Linked DNA regions of Homo sapiens: region 2 is linked to region 1. Evidence: promoter capture Hi-C in 16 types of primary human blood cells and fetal thymus (Javierre and others, 2016). All regions are on one chromosome and are shown on one strand. Each heading gives the region's core, a stretch centred on a gene start or on the middle of the fragment in contact. The rest is flanking DNA. Distances are from core to core; before and after follow the strand shown. Region 1 holds the start of TACO1 (translational activator of cytochrome c oxidase I). Region 2 overlaps TANC2 (tetratricopeptide repeat, ankyrin repeat and coiled-coil containing 2).

Region 1 (2,700 bases), core at 100-2,599:
TCTTGAACTCCTGACCTCAAGTGATCTGCCAGCCTCGGCCTCCCAAAGTGCTAGGATTACAGGCGTGAGCCACCGCACCCAGCCCCATGGAGGTTCTTATATAATAAAAAATAAAAAATCTATGCTTTTGTGCTTTGCATCCATTATCCCATTTAGTCCTCACAAGGCCATTCTATGGTAAGGAAACTGAAACAGGAAAGTAAAGGAACTTGCCCAAGGATACACTAGAAAATGGAACAACCAGGGTTTGAAGCCACCCAGTCTAACTGCAGAGGGCACAAACTTGGACTTCACACTGTCCTGCTTCTCTCTCTCTCTCTCTCTCTTTTTTTTTTTTTTTTTTGAGTTGGATTCTCGCTCTGTCGCACAGGCTGGAGTGCAGTGGCGCGATCTCGGCTCACTGCAACCTCCTCTTCCCGGGTTCAAGCGATTCTCCTGCCTCATCCTTCTGAGTAGCTGGCATTACAGGCGCGCGCCACCACGGCCGGCTAATTTTTTTGTATTTTTAGTAGAGACGGGGTTTCACCATGTTGGTCAGACTGGTCTGGCACTCCTGACCTAGCGATCCGTCTGCCTCAGCCTCCCAAAGTGCTGGGATTACAGGCGTGAGCCACCGCGCCCGGCTGTCCTGCTTCTCTACCTGATATGTCATGCCCTTTGGACTTAATCTCACCAGCATGGGAGTCACTACAAAGCTTTTCAGCAGCTGCCGCTTTGTTTCTCTCCATCTTCTAACGGATTCGGTTTTCTCTTTCGAGACAGCAGAGAGAAAATGAAGAGGGGAGTTTAGCTCCAAAGGGCTTGTCTGATCATTCTCCCTCTCCCAAAGGCCTGTGACTCATCTGAGTCTGTCCCAAACCATCTCTTGCATCTAGGGGCTTAAGTGCACTGTGGCTATTTACATAAAACTTTATTACTTTAAAGCTCTAAGGGCTCATTTTGTGTTTCTAACTTTCCTATGTTGATAAAGCAAATATTAGATCCTTATTTATAAATAGGGAAGACGTTCAGAGAGATTAAACATTTGGGCAATTCACTTCTCTGGCAGCAGTTTCTTTCCCAGTACAATGAGGCAACAACAAAATATCATTCTGGACTTGCTCAGATTTAGGCAGCAATTTGGAAGCAAAGTCAGTTTCATAACTCAGATGTGTCTCCACTAAAACATTATGAGAAACAAAGTCCGGCGCTCTCTAGGCAACCGTGAGGGCTTGAGCACTAACTAGATCTGCTCAAGGGCAAGAGAGGAGCGAGTACCGTGCAGCCACGGAACGGACTTTGCGGGCAGTGGGGACGTGTTTTTGGAGCGAACCCGGTAAAGGAAGTGTGCTACGCCATCAAGGGCCCCCAGTCCCGGGTGCCGCGGGGACAGTGTAGGGTCATTAGCTGTTGAGCCGCCCCGGGCGGGCCCAAGCCTTTGGATCTCAGGTGACCGGCACAGGCGGCCGCGGGGTCCGGAACTGCTTGTTCCGGCAGTGGAAGAGACGCGCCGGCGTTGGCCGCTGCTGCTAGCAGCTTGAACCCCAGGGTCGGGACCGATGTCGGCTTGGGCTGCTGCCAGCCTAAGCAGGGCCGCTGCCCGATGCTTGCTGGCACGAGGCCCCGGGGTCAGGGCGGCTCCTCCGCGCGACCCCCGGCCCTCCCACCCCGAGCCCCGGGGCTGCGGTGCCGCTCCGGGCAGGACGCTGCACTTTACCGCGGCTGTCCCCGCCGGGCACAACAAGTGGTCCAAAGTCAGGCACATCAAGGGTCCGAAGGACGTCGAAAGGAGTCGCATCTTCTCCAAACTCTGTTTGAACATCCGCCTGGCAGTGAAAGGTGAGACCCTGACGGTCACCCAGCACTGGCTGCCGCTGCCCTCTCAGTGCCCGCAGCCTCGCTTGCCTCTCGGAATTGGGCCCACCTAGATCTCCGGCCCTTCACTTTGTTTTCCTTCCCCAGTACCCACCATTGCCCACCTCATAAATCCTCAAAACACCTACCCTACGTTGGAGGTTCTCACTCACTTTTCCAGACGCTGAGCATCTGGCCAGTTTGTCAGAGAGGGAGCTGCTCTTAAGAAGATAAGCCGGTAAGGTAGAAGTGACTTCATCCTAATCTAGCTGGGTACTTAATAGAAACAAGCCCTAAGAGTCAGGGCAGATGTGTGTCTCTCCTGAAGAGACAAATCAACCCCTCTGAAGTCGCCTCAAGTACCTTATTGGTTGTGGCAGGGGCACTGAGTAAAGCTATTACTTAAGTGCTTAGGCCTTAGCTTAGGCCTTAGTTTGCTTCATTAATGTTTCCCCAAGACACATTTCCTTGGAAGGTAGATTTGCAGCCATGTCTTTTCTCCCTTAGGTCGCCACACTGAAAAGGCTTTTTTTCTGTTTAGGGCCAGACATCTGTAGGAGCAAAGGAAAAGTCCTGTAGAAAGCATGGACTTTGGACTGGGCGCAGTGGCACAGCCTGTAATCCCAGGCCAGAGGCAGGCAGATCACTTGAGGTCAGGAGTTCAGGACTAGCCTGGCCAACATGGGGAAACCCTGTGTCTACTAAAAATAACAAAAAAAAAAAAAAAAAAAAACAGCTGGGCATGGTGGTGCATGCCTGTAATGCTGGCTACTCGGGAGGCTGAAGCAGGAGAATTGCTTGAACCCAGGAGTTGAAGGCTGCAGTAAGCGAGATTGCTCTACTGTACTCCATCCAGCCTGGGTGACA
Region 2 (2,722 bases), core at 46-2,545, 530 kb before region 1:
TTTTAGTGTCCATAAAGAAAATTTTATTAGAGTAGAACCACATGTGTTTGTTCATCCAGTATCGAAAACCACCACCCTAGTCTCTACACTACTATAAGGGGTATCTTTTTAAAATGCAAATTATTCTAGGTAAATGTGTTTAAAGATTTTTTTAAAAAACATTAAGCAGGTCAGGGTTCTTAGTTGTTTCTCACAATGTAATTTCTATGACAGCACATGCAGGTTAACATTGTGCCTCACTATAGGTGAGTTAAAAATGTTTCCATCTCAAGTGGTTGATTTGATAAGAGTAATTCATATATCAGTGTCATGAGCATTGACCTTTTCACTAAAAAGAAAATGTATCGTATTTTCACACTGTAAGCATTTAGAAAGAACTACTTTTACTTACTTCTTTTCTTGTTAGAGCAGCTTTTTTCTTGAATTCCTTGTAAAGCATGTATACCTAAGCTTGCTGTGATAGATTTCATAGATGTGGGGAATAGATGCATGATAGGGACTTTAGTTACCTAAGCATGGGTATACAGAATGTCAGGTGCCAAATTTTCTTAATAGAGTGTAGAATTTTTTTTTTTAAAGAGTCAAGGTCTCCCCTTGTCACCTAATTGGAGTGTGGTGGTGTGATCATAGCATAGCTCATTGTAACCTCAAATTCCTGGCCTCAAGCGATCCTCCCACCTTGGGCTCCCAAAGTGCTGGGATTACAGGTGTGAATCATTTTGCTCAGCCCTAGAATTTCTTAAATAGTGGTCTTCATTAGAAAGGAGCAGTAATATAGACCTGGAGAGGGAGGGTTATAGGGTTGGCAGTGTACCAGAATTCCTACTGAGGTACTTTATTTTGGTTGTGGCCAGTTGATTGTCAAGAGAAGCTCTCTTTTAGTAGAATGAATAGACAGAGACACCAAACATGGCTTTTGGGAAAAACATTTTTTTTTCTTTAGAGAATATATCTTTTGATTTTATATTGGAAGCACATAGGAAGGTTATATTGTAAGACTAAGTCTTCATAACCTGCTTTGTTAGAATGCCTCTATTCTGTAAAGGAATAATTGCTATAGTTACTGATTAGTGCTTTTTTAACATCGTTTTTATGAGAAAAGAATAAAACGGGAACATGAATTGAACTCAAAATATTTAATAAATTTGGGTAGAAATTAGTATCAGAGAGATGTATTGAGTCAAACATCCTTGGGTTAAAATCCAGTTTCATTTTTACTGGTTTTGTCATTGGATTTCAGTTAGTCACCATGAGTTTCAGTGTTCTCAGCTGTGAAATAGGTCTTTACTTCATAGGGCTTTGATGAACTATGTAAAATACCTGGCAGAGAGTACATAGTAATTATTGGCTGCCTTTCTGTTCTTAAATACATTTTAGAAAGAAGAGAAAACTTTAGGATTTTTGGACATATTGAATATTAATTCACAAGAGAGTGAGGTAGAAGGAATCCTAGAGGGTTTAAAACTTAGAAATTAAATTTGAGTTGGCCCAGTTGAAATACTGAGCCTTATTAAAAAGAATCCATATTTATAGAGTTGTTTACTTAGAATTTGATATACAGTTAAGAAGGATTGTAAATGTTCACATTTCCTTTAAAAGGACAAAATTAAAGAATTTAAGTTTTAATTTCAACAGAGGCAGATCAGCCATTCAGAGATGATAATCCATGAGTAGATTTTTGCTTTAATTTTTAAAAATAATGTCAAAGAAAAATTTCTTATATTTGTCTTTCAGATAACACCTTATTTTGTCAACATGTCTATTTTTATTCAAATGTGGTAACTTATATAGTAACAGCAGAACTAAAATAAACTGATTTATATTTAAAAAGTATTTTCATACTGGAGGAAAAAATATGGTTGCCTATCACTTTGAGTATCTTTCTATGTGATAAGTTATTTTACAAATCTGACTAAATTAGTGGAGTGTTTTACTAGATTACTGTGGACTAAGAGATATGAATATTTCCTGGCAATGTACTTATTATTTTGTATTGTCGTCGTATATTTGGAATCGATTGATTAAATGTTACTGTACTTGCTAGTTTAACAGCCCTCTACAAAATAGAGAATAGTTGATATATATACATGAATTGGATTTAATTATTGCTAGGCCTTACATATAATAAATATACTTAAAAGGAAGCTTTATATCAATAATGAATTAAAAAACAGGCCATTCTGTTTAAAAAGCAATAGATGTTACTACACGAGCTCTATTAAAAACAATAAACCATAGAATAAGTAGATGACAGAGCAAGAATACTCTTTATTAAACCTGCTTGCAGCTACTACCCCTTTTCCCTGTCAAGTTAAAAATAAGACAAGTGATTGTATGAAAGAACGAACAAAGGAAATTGTTTGATGCCTTAATGCATTTTTCATCTGATTAAAGTGATAACAAATTTATAGGTGTATAGACCACTATGTTAAAGATTTTGCTTGGTTTAGTTTCATATTTTATATTATACTTTACATTCTTAATATATTAATTTCTGTTTTACTGTGCCTATTTTAATGAATTTATGATGCATAATTTTTCTGTTTCTATATAACAAAATTGAGGCAATTATTTACAATAAAGTAAAATTTGTTTTAGCTTTTCTTAACATGCATGAGGGAATATACTGTTTTGGTTATTTCTTAAAAGAAGATGTATACAATGAAATGGATTTGTTTCTATATAATTTTAAAAATCATGGTAAAATAAACTCAAGATTTAT

Evidence for each region. Contacts are between HindIII fragments. The CHiCAGO score rates a contact against its expected background, and 5 or more counts as called.
Region 2: a fragment that was not itself captured here is called in contact with the fragment with the promoter of TACO1 in region 1 in 1 of 17 cell types (M1 macrophages); the score reaches 5.2 in M1 macrophages.

The regions. Positions count from the first base shown.
Region 1 is chr17:63,599,546-63,602,245 of GRCh38, forward strand. TACO1 (translational activator of cytochrome c oxidase I) reads left to right here and starts at 1,350. Exons shown (of 5, transcript NM_016360.4): 1 at 1,350-1,818. The coding sequence starts at 1,539. The HindIII fragment of the contact is 11,259 bases long and covers 694-2,700 here.
Region 2 is chr17:63,070,728-63,073,449 of GRCh38, forward strand. All of the region lies in intron 2 of TANC2 (tetratricopeptide repeat, ankyrin repeat and coiled-coil containing 2), which reads left to right. Among named protein-coding and RNA genes, the nearest start is that of TANC2, 110 kb to the left of the region's middle. The HindIII fragment of the contact is 1,695 bases long and covers 449-2,143 here.